Linked DNA regions of Homo sapiens: all the other regions are linked to region 1. The links are contacts of gene promoters, found by promoter capture Hi-C in human tissues and cell types (Jung and others, 2019). All regions are on one chromosome and are shown on one strand. Each heading gives the region's core, a stretch centred on a gene start or on the middle of the fragment in contact. The rest is flanking DNA. Distances are from core to core; before and after follow the strand shown. Region 1 holds the start of APLNR (apelin receptor). Region 2 has its middle 30 kb from the start of OR5AK2. Region 3 overlaps LOC105369309 (a long non-coding RNA gene).

Region 1 (3,446 bases), core at 1-2,500:
GGAGGTGCCTGCGCACCTGCTCTGGCCACAGCAGAGCATGGAGGTGCAGGCCTGGCGGAAGCGGGGGTCGAAAAAGGCATAGAGGAAGGGGTTGAGGCAGCTGTTGACGTAGCTGATGCAGGTGCAGTAGGGGAAGATGTTCATGAGGAAGAGGTCAAAGTCACAGGGCCAGTGCAGCAGGCTGCCCAGCATGTACAGCGTCTTCACCAGGTGGTAGGGCATCCAGCACAGGGCAAAGGTCACCACCAGCACCACGATGATGCTGAGCAGCCGGCGCCGCTTCCGCAGGCCCTCGATGCGTTCCTTGCGGAAGTGGCCAGCGATGGTTTGGGCGATGAAGAAGTAACAGGTCAGCATGATGGTGAAGGGCACCACAAAGCCCACGGTGGTGGACGAGACCCCAAGGCCCACCTCCCAGGCCCACTCTGAGCTCACAGTGGCCACCATGGAGTAGTCCATGTAGCACTGCACCTTAGTGGTGTTCTCCAAGTCCCCGGTGGTGCGTAACACCATGACAGGCATGGCCAGGAGGGCGGCCAGCACCCAAAGAACTGCCGTGGCCACGGCCCCGCTGACCCGCAGCCTCAGCCGAGCATTGGCCACTGGCCTCACGATGGCCAGGTAGCGGTCGAAGCTGAGGCCGGTGAGGCAGAAGACGCTGGCGTACATGTTGACGAAGATGAGGTAGCTGCTGAGCTTGCAGAAGAAGGTCCCAAAGGGCCAGTCATAGTCCCGGTACGTGTAGGTAGCCCACAGGGGCAGCGTCACCACGAAGGTCAGGTCAGCCACCGCCAGGCTAGCAATGAAGATATCAGCTGAGCGCCTCTTCTCCCGGCTGCTCCGAAACACGGTCCAGAGCACCAGACCGTTGCCCGTGGTGCCCAGGAGGAAGACCAACATGTAGATGGCAGGGATGAGGGCCCCCGAGGATTTCCAGTCTGTGTACTCACACTCAGACTGGTTGTCTGCCCCATAGTAGTTGTCAAAATCACCACCTTCCTCCATGCTGGGGAGTGGAGAGAAGACGGGCAGAGGGTCCCAGGGACACCAGCTCCGTGGCTCTGTCACCCACTCTGCAAGCAGCCTGAATTTCTGGCTTGAGCCTCAGAGAGTAAGAAGGGCTGAAGATGCCCAGAGTCCTTCCCAGCACTCAGGAGGAGCTGCCTCTGGGTTCTCCAGACCCTGGAGGAAGCCTGTCTCCTGCAGAATTTCCTCCACCCTCTCTTGCCTTACCCCCGTCTCAGTTAAGACACTTCCTTGCACCCTCCTGCGTCCCTGTCTCCTCCTTGACTCGTCACTCCCTCCTCCCACCTCCAGACCAGCCCCTCTCTTGTGAGTCAAAATCTTTAGTGACAGCCCACTTTTTTTTTCTTTTTGTCACTGAGCAAGTGGACCAAATTGACCCCTACTGTGCTGGGCTGAACATTATCTGTGGTTTTGCAAGTCGGCTTTCCTGGCCCCGCCTCTCCTTTCTGGCTGCCACCCACCTTCACCCCAGCCCCTATCCCTCCACTTTCCTCTGGCCACCACTTCCTGCCTGCCCTTTAGGGCACTCCCTCCTCAGTGCTCTCCGCCCTCCTGTTCTCACCCCCTTCCATCCAATCTAAATGGGACACATTATGCAGATTGCAATCCAGCTTGAGCTGGAGCCAGGGCTGGTAGGGAGCAAGGAGGGTGTAAGATTTCGCAGGATGGGCAGGGCATCTGGCAGGTCCTCCTGGCAGGCAGGTCTGGCCCCCTCGGCTCCCTTCCTGCACCCCCAGCCCCCACCCAGACCAGGTGTCACAGGAGGGTCTTCTCCCACTTTGCCTCTCGCTTCATCTTTCTCTACCCCTTGGCTTTGACCCTCCCTCTGAGAACTTTTGTGGTTTCTAGAGAAATACCCCTACACTAGTGTAGACTGCAGTTTGCAGTTTGCGGAAGGCACAGGATGCTTTAGAAGGTTGAGGGCAGTCACAGGATGGAAGAAACCCAGGACAAAATTATCTCTAAACAAGTCATTAAATCTGTAGGAAACAAAGGCCCAACAAGGTCAATGTTTTGCCCAAGGTAATAAAGTGAATTATGCTACAGTTGATTGTTTGCTTTTCTTCTTCTCCAAACACGAACATAATACAGTACCTGGCATGTCGTAGGTGAATGGCTGTTTTGTTTGTTTGTTTGTTTGTTGAGACAGAGTTTCACTCTTGTTGCCCAGGCTGGTCTAGGCTCACTGCAACTTCTGCCTCCTGGGTTCAAGCGATTCTCCCGCCTCAGCCTCCCTAGTAGCTGGGATTGCAGGCTAATTTTTTTGTATTTTTAGTAGAGATGGGGATTGACCAGGCTAGTCTCAAACTCCTGACCTCAGATGATCCACCCACCTCGGCCTCCCAAAGTGCTGAAATTACAGGCATGAGCCACCACGCCCAGCCAGGTGAATGGCTGTTGAGTGAGTAAGTGGATGGATGATGTAGGAGGTGAGTGAAAAGGGGAATCCATAGATGGAAGAACAAGTGTAAGAATTACTACGTGGTGAGAACATGGATACATTTCAGTTCTCAGGTTTTTACTATCCTCCATGGACCAAGAGGTTTCTGTAAGACCACAGGGGGTCAGGAAGTTGAGCTAGAGGAGGGGGGTCTCTAGAGAAAGACTCAGTCACTGGAGGATACTGTGGGGAAAGTTCCGTAGACGCTCACTTTGCCCCAGCTCATCACCTCTCCAGGACCTCTAGGAAGGAAGGAAGATGCACGACGTAAGATTTTTTTTAAAAAATACGCACCCTTTCCACAACCTTGAAGAGTTGGGGAAGCCACCTGACGTTGGGTAATAGTGAGATGGAACAAAAGCAGGAGCTGAGCCTTAGCCACTTCCAAGGCAAAAGACTTACAAAAGCTGGAATTGGCCAGGCAAGGTGGCTCATGCCTATAATCCCAGCACTTTGGGAGGCCAAGGCAGGAAGACTGCTTGAGCCCAGGAGTTCAAGACTAGCCTGAATAACACAGCCAAGACCCTGTCTCACGATATATATTTGTCTTAAGTTACTACAAAAGCTGGAATCCATTTTCTGGAGGGAGAGTGGATCAGAAAATCATATGCAGAGATCAAGGAACTCAAACTCAAATACCTGCAAAAAAAAAAAAAAAAAACAGGCCAAGAGTGTAGTTTGAGACAACAGAGAATGGTAAAGACTGTGGCAAACTGGAGGGTGCCCATTCCATCATAGGGAGGCCTCTTCAGCTCTAGTCTCTGGTTGCCACGCAGAAAGCTGGACCCCAGCATGACTGTGTCTTAGGATTTTTCCAAGATAATTTCAAATTATGGATTTTTGTAAGAAATTTTCATATTTGTAAATTTTGGAAATCAATTTTCATTTCAAAAAAAAGCACAGACCATGATAAGTAAAACATGTCTTTGGCCCCCGAGTTTGTGTTCTTTAAACAGGAGCTTGCCAAGAATAGAAGGCA
Region 2 (3,446 bases), core at 539-3,038, 220 kb before region 1:
ACGATTAGCTCAATATTAAACATAGAAATGTACAGATTCTGTGTGAGATTGGAGGGGGGGGTTACACTAGTTTCCTTAGCTCCTGAGAAGCATCCTCATATTTTCATATTATTTTATTTAAATCCAGATTACTAAAGTCAAGTTGATATGATAAATGTCATTACTCTATTGAAATTCTAGCTTAACTAGACCTCTGGCCTATTCAAGCTTCCTCTAGTAAGTGTTTATCCAAATGAAAGAAACACTTTTTGAAAGGACTGCATTTCTTTCATTTTACAGTAAATTTACCCTATGAAGAAACTTATGCTAACTTAATATACCTCAGTATTCACTAAATGTTAAATTGAAGAGAATTGTTTCTGCTTTCTTGTTCCTCCACTACAGAACAGAAAAAAAAAAGCAATAGAAAATGTAAGGCTATTTCTCAGACATCAATTATATAACAGGTTTATTTTGCTTGTAAAGAATATCACCTAGATGGGAGTTGCATTCTAAAGATATAAATACAAAGATACTTTGAAGCCTTCAAACATATGTAAAGCATGAATATATTTAGGGAAATTTATCTCTAGTTTATTGTACTAATTTCAAGAGCTTTATCCAAAATTAAAATGGTAGGTGGCTGTGAACAATTGTAGGTTACTAAAGGGGTACAAAATTATGTTTTAATATTACTTTAGGTATGGATGCCTGTTTAATATAGTGAAAAATTGCTCATCTATATTTCTAAGAACTACACACATTAGAAGTCAGTCTTCTTCTAAGACAACCTTTTTCCTTTTGAAGATGAATTCATTTCCTCTTTCATCAAGTAGATCACTCTTTACTTGATGATTATAAATACATTTTTTTAATTTGAAAATGAGTAACACTATTGGGAGTATTTGTCATGAAAATCCAAATAGAAAAAAGTGACGTGAAATACAGAGCCATTTCATTGCAAGAAGTCACAAGGATTTCCCTTCTTTTCTGGGTCCTTCTCTTGGTCATTTCTAGAGTTTTGGTAGCCATGGCATGAGGAAACAGCACTGAAGTGACTGAATTCTGTCTTCTGGGATTTGGTGCCTAGCAAGAGTTTTGGTGTATCCTCTTCATTATATTCCTTCTCATCTATGTGACCTCCATAATGGGTAATAGTGGAATAATCTTACTCATCAACACAGATTCCAGATTTCAAACACCCATGTACTTTTTTCTACAACATTTGGCTTTTGTTGATATCTGTTACACTTCTGCTATCACTCCCAAGATGCTCCAAAGCTTCACGGAAGAAAAGAATTTGATATCATTTTGGGGCTGCATGATACAATTATTGGTTTATGCAACATTTGCAACCAGTGACTGTTATCTCCTGGCTATGATAGCAGTGGACCATTATGTTGCAATCTGTAAGCCCCTTCACTATACCGTAATCACGTCCCAAACAGTCTGCATCCATTTGGTAGCTGGTTCATACATCATGGGCTCAATAAATGCCTCTGTACATACAGGTTTTGCATTTTCACTGTCTTTCTGCAAGTCCAATAACATCAACCACTTTTTCTGTGATGGTCCCCCAATTCTTGCCCTTTCATGCTCCAATATTGACATCAACATCATGCTACTTGTTGTCTTTGTGGGATTTAACTTGATGTTCACTGGGTTGGTAGTCATCTTTTCCTACATCTACATCATGGCCACCATCCTGAAAATGTCTTCTAGTGCAGGAAGGAAAAAATCCTTCTCAACATGTGCCTCCCACCTGACCACAGTTGCCATTTTCTATGGGACACTCTCTTACATGCACTTACCAGTCTCATTCTAATAATTCCCAGGAGAATATGAAAGTGGCCTCTATATTTTATGGCACTGTTATTCCCATGTTGAATCCTTTAATCTATAGCTTGAGAAATAAGGAAGTAAAAGAAGCTTTAAAATTGATAGGGAAAAAGTTCTTTTAAATCAGCCCCAGTTGTTAACATTCAGCTCAACAAATCATCCAACATAGCTGTTCTGCCAAAATTTAATTTTTCTACAATAAGGAATATGTAGAAAGATGTCAAATTAATAATCTAACATCACCTCTAGAGGAATTTAAAATACAAGAGCCAACCAATCCCAAAGCTAGCAGAAGAAAAAGTAACTAAAATCAGAACCGAACTGAACAAAATTAAGACACAAATATTTATGCAAAAACTTAATGAAACCAAAATTTGGTTTCTTGGAAGAATAAATAAGATTGGTAGGCTGCTAGCCAGATTCACAACGAGAAAAGAGGGAACATCTAAATAAGCACAGCCAGAAAGAACAAAGGTGGCATTACAACCAATCCCACAGAAATACAAAAGATACTCAGAGAATATTATGAACACTTTTATGCAAATAGACTAGAAAATATAGAGGAAATGGATAAAATCCTAGGAACCCACAAACTCCCAAGATTTAATAAGGAAGAAATTGAAACCCTGAGCAGACCAGTATCAAGTTCTGAAGTGAAAACAGTACCAAAAATCTACCAACCAAAAACAAAGTACAGACCAGATGAATTTGCAGTCAAATTCTACCAGATGTAAAAAGAAGAGCTGGTGCCAATTCTACTGAAACTATTTCAAAAAATCGAGCAGGAGGGACTCCTTTGCAACTCATTCTATGAAACCAGCATCAGGTCTCTGATACTAAAACCTGACAAAGACACAATGAAAAAAGAAAACTGCAGGCCAATATTCCTGATGAACATAGATGCAAAACCATCAATGAAATACTAGCAAACCAAATTCAGCAGCACATCCAAAGTTATTTCACCATGATCAAGTAGGCTTCATTCTTTGGATGCAAGGTTGGTTCAATATATGCAAATCATGAAATGTCATTCACCACATAAACAGCATTTAAAGCAAAAACCATATGATCTCAATAGATGCAAAAAAAGCCTTCAATAAAATGCAACATCCCTTCGTTGTAAAAATTCTCTACAAATTAAGCATCAAAGCAATGTACCTTAAAATAAGTGCAATCTATGACAAATTTACAGCCAATGTCATAATGAATGGGCAAAATCTGAAGGCATTCCCCCTTGAAAACTGCAACAAGACAAGGGTGCCCACTCTCACCATAGTTCAACATAGTTCTAGAAGTCCTAAGCAGAGTAATTAGGCAAGAGAAAGAAACAAAAGACACCCAAATAGGAAAAGAAGAAGTCAAACTATCTCTCTTTGTGGACTATATGATTCTATATCTAGATAACCCTAAAGACTCTGTCAAAAGGCTCTTGGAGCTGACAAATGAATTCACTAAATTTTTAGGTTACAAAATCAATGTACAAAAATCAGTAGCACTTCTAAACATCAATAATGTTAAACTGAGAGCCAAATCAAGAATGCGAGTCAATTAATAATAGCTACCAAAAAAATAAAATATCTAAGAATACATCTAACCAAGTAAATGAAGTATCTCTACTAGCAGAGAAT
Region 3 (3,446 bases), core at 621-3,120, 160 kb before region 1:
ATCTTTCATTCCTTCAACAAATAATTTTATACCAGGCCCTGTTCTAGGCACTTGGAAAACACAAGTAAACAAACAGACAAAAAATTCCTGTCCTTTGGAAGTTATAATTAAGAAGATGGAGGCAGTCATTAAACATTAAAGGCAATAAATAAATAAAATATATAATATGTTAAAGGTGTATGTGTTATATTTTAAAAAAGAAGAAGAAAAAAAAGGCAGGGTAAGGTCAAAGAGAATCAGAAGTTTGGGTAAGGAGAGTGGGGTTGCAAAATTAATTAGCCTGGCCAGGGTAAACCTCCTTGAGAAGGTGACATTTGAACACATACTTGAAGAAAGTGAGAGAGTTGAAGGAGGTACAGCTATCTGGAGGAAAAGACTTCCAGGCAAAAGAAATAGTAAGATAAATGACCCACAGCAGGAGCATTTCTTATTTGTTTTAAAAAACACCAAGACTCCACTGTGTGGCCAGAGTGGAATGAGCAGGTTGGGTGGGGGAAAATAACTGCAGGTTAGAGCACAGAAAGCCTTGCAAGTCATTATAAGGATGCTGGTTGTTCTTAGAGTCTTACAAGCAGCTGTTGCAGAGTTTTGAGCCGATAGGTACCATTTTCTGGCTTATGTGTTTCATTTGTTTGTTTGTTTGTTTGTTTTGTTGAGATAGAGTCTCACTCTGTCACAGGCTGGAGTGCAGTGGTGTGATCTCGGCTCATTGCAACCTCCATCTTCTGGGCTCAAGCAATTCTCCTGCCTCTCAGCCTCCTGAGTAGCTGGGATTACAGGCACACACCACCACGCCCAGCTAATTTTTGTATTTTTAGTAGAGACTGGGTTTCACCATGTTGGTCAGGCTGGTCTGGAACTCCTGACCTTGTGATCCACCGGCCTCGGCTTCCCAAAGTGCTGGGATTACAGGTGTCAGCCACCACGCCCAGTCGCTGGCTTCGGTTTTAACAGGATCACTCTAGGTTATTGGCTCAAGTAGCCAAACACTCTAAGGGTTGAAACTGGCTTTAGTTGTTCCAGAGACTCAAATGATAACATCCAAGCTTAGTTTCTTTGCATGTCTCAGCTCAGCCTCCTTTATGTGTTATTCTCAGCCTCAGGATGGTCCCCTTCCTGGTAGCAAATGACTGAAACAGCTCTAAGCCTTGCACAACCAAAGCCAGGTAAACAAGAGAAAGCCTTTCTTTCTACAAGTCCCAGGATATATCTCAACAGAGATTCCGCTTGGGATGTGTTCCCCTCTCTGAAACAGTGGCAGAGGGTGAGGTAATGAAGCACATGCCCCTGAATCTGAAGATGAGGCCAATTCTACCCAATCACAAAACTGAGGGAGCAGAGTGGGTTTCCTAGGGGAAATTTAGGGTGCTGCTACCAGAAGGAGGGAGACTGTGCATTGAATCACAAACGATAAATGCTCAGTTATTTAGGGGAAAAAAGATTCATATGCTTATCACTTTAATGTGAGGTAGGTCAGCAGTGGCTACGAAGAGGTGTGGAACCAAGGGCTTATGGCAGAAAGAGGCTAGAACTGAAAGGAAGGATCTTGGAAGGTCACGTAGACTTGTGCACTATTCTTGATTCTGCTGCTAGCACAATGGGGCTCGTCACTCAATTTTATTTTGGGGGCCCTAAATTCCAGCTTCACCTCCATGCAGTGAGCTATCATGCCATATATTACCATTTCAGTTTTCCATTGAGATTCCTCACTAAAAAATAACGTGGTGATCTTAAACTCTCAGGCTTTTCCAACTCTAACCTTGTAGGATTCTTGCTCTGGCCTCTGGAATCCTCCTCCTGCTGTCTTTGGGTCCCCTGATAACCATGTACCCCTCACGCTGTGGTGCCTCAGCTGGCCCTACCTTCTCTGGATTCTGGTTCAGCCCCTGACACCAAGCAGCCATTGAGTGCCCACCATCTCCCAGCTAAGTGATAAAAGTACCTTTGCCATAGGGTGGTTATTTGCATTTTGACAGAAGGCTTCTAGAACTTATGCTCAAACCCTGCACATTCACATAAAGTCCTGGGTGCTGCATGACTCTAAGCCTCATTCTGTACCTTGATAAGAACTGGGCCTGATTCATGCGTGCCCAAATGATAAAACACTACAGTAATGTCCAATCTCAACAGGAAATACTATATTTCTTCCCTTAACACCTCAGATGTATTAGAATGATGGAAATCAAGTAGGCAGTAGGGCCGCTCCAAAAACATTTCACGGACTTGGCTACTTCCACATACAGTCAGCGCTACAATAATTAGGGAAAAGCAGACTTGAAGACGCCAACTTTTCAGACTTAAATAGTCCTACAACACGTAAAGCAACAAATCTATTGAAAATTTTTTGTACAAGTATTTGAACTTTCTCCTTGACGTAGGAGCTCTGAGTTAGCTCTAAAGCCATTTCCCTGAAACAAGTGTGGAGACACTGAACTGCGTGCAATTACAGGTTGTGCTTCCACAACGACACATTGTCTGGTGTGGCTTTGAAAGCTCATGAAGAAATGGTAGAAGGGATGTGGTGGGAACACTCATCCTAGGTCACTTTTACAATATCTCTTTGACTTTCAGCATTGACCTTCAGCATGGCCTTCTCACAGCATGCTCTGGCCTTCTCCACCTCTGGGCCTCTTTTCACACTGCCCCGCCTCTTTAAATGTCCTTTCCTCCCATCCCAGCTCTGCTTTCTCTACTATTTTCTCTTTTTTTCAAAGCTATTTTAAACATTGTTGCCTCCAAGGAGTCTTTCCTGATCTCTCTGCTGGAAAAAATATGAGCCGCCTCTTAGCTCCCACAGCATGCTACCTCTATCTCCACTATGACAACAAGAAATTAGCTTCCTTTAAAAAAAAAAAGCCTCTGCTCAAACCCTGCACATTCACATAAAGGCTTGGGTGCTGCCTCATTCTGGACCTTGCTATGAACTGGGCCTGGTTAATGCCTGCCCAAATGATAACACAGTAATGTCCAAACTCAACAGGGAATATTCTATTTCTTTCTATAACTGTGGTAGCAACCTCTGAGATGATCTCCAGTGATACCTGCCTCCTGGTGTGCATGCTCTGTGTTATCCACTCCCCTTGATGCCCTGAGTGTGGGCAGGACTTAGTGACTCCCTTATAGTAAATAGAATACTGAAAAAGTAATGGGATGCCACTTCCAAGAGATTAGTAAGATTAAAATACAAAAAGTCTCTGGCTTCCATTCTGAATGAATGAATCAATCAATCTCTCTCTCTCTCTCTCTGTCGCTGTCTCTCTCTCTCTCTTTATAACCTGTCTCTCTCCCTTTTTGTCTCCCACTCTCTCCCCCTCACTACCCTTCTGAGGGAAGCCAGCTACCATATTGCTAGTTGCCCTTTGTAAGTTATCCCATGACCATGGGGCAAGGAACTGATGCTTACAACCAACAGCCCTCAAGGAATCCTACCAAGAGCCATGTAAGTG

What was found. The method cuts DNA at HindIII sites, captures the fragments that hold promoters and counts their contacts. A contact is called where the count stands out against the background at its distance.
Region 2: a contact is called between a fragment that was not itself captured here and the fragment with the promoter of APLNR in region 1, in 1 of the 25 tissues and cell types used here (adrenal gland).
Region 3: a contact is called between a fragment that was not itself captured here and the fragment with the promoter of APLNR in region 1, in 1 of the 25 tissues and cell types used here (adrenal gland).

What each region holds. Positions count from the first base shown.
Region 1 is chr11:57,236,000-57,239,445 of GRCh38, forward strand. It overlaps APLNR (apelin receptor), which reads right to left and starts at 1,251. Exons shown (of 1, transcript NM_005161.6): 1 at 1-1,251. The coding sequence starts at 1,005. RefSeq lists an enhancer at 893-1,525. The HindIII fragment of the contact is 13,017 bases long and covers 1-3,446 here.
Region 2 is chr11:57,017,082-57,020,527 of GRCh38, forward strand. It overlaps the pseudogene OR5AK1P. Among named protein-coding and RNA genes, the nearest start is that of OR5AK2, 30 kb to the left of the region's middle. The HindIII fragment of the contact is 4,836 bases long and covers 1-3,446 here.
Region 3 is chr11:57,077,255-57,080,700 of GRCh38, forward strand. The region is part of intron 6 of LOC105369309 (a long non-coding RNA gene); the gene reads right to left. Among named protein-coding and RNA genes, the nearest start is that of OR5AK2, 90 kb to the left of the region's middle. The HindIII fragment of the contact is 9,153 bases long and covers 1-3,446 here.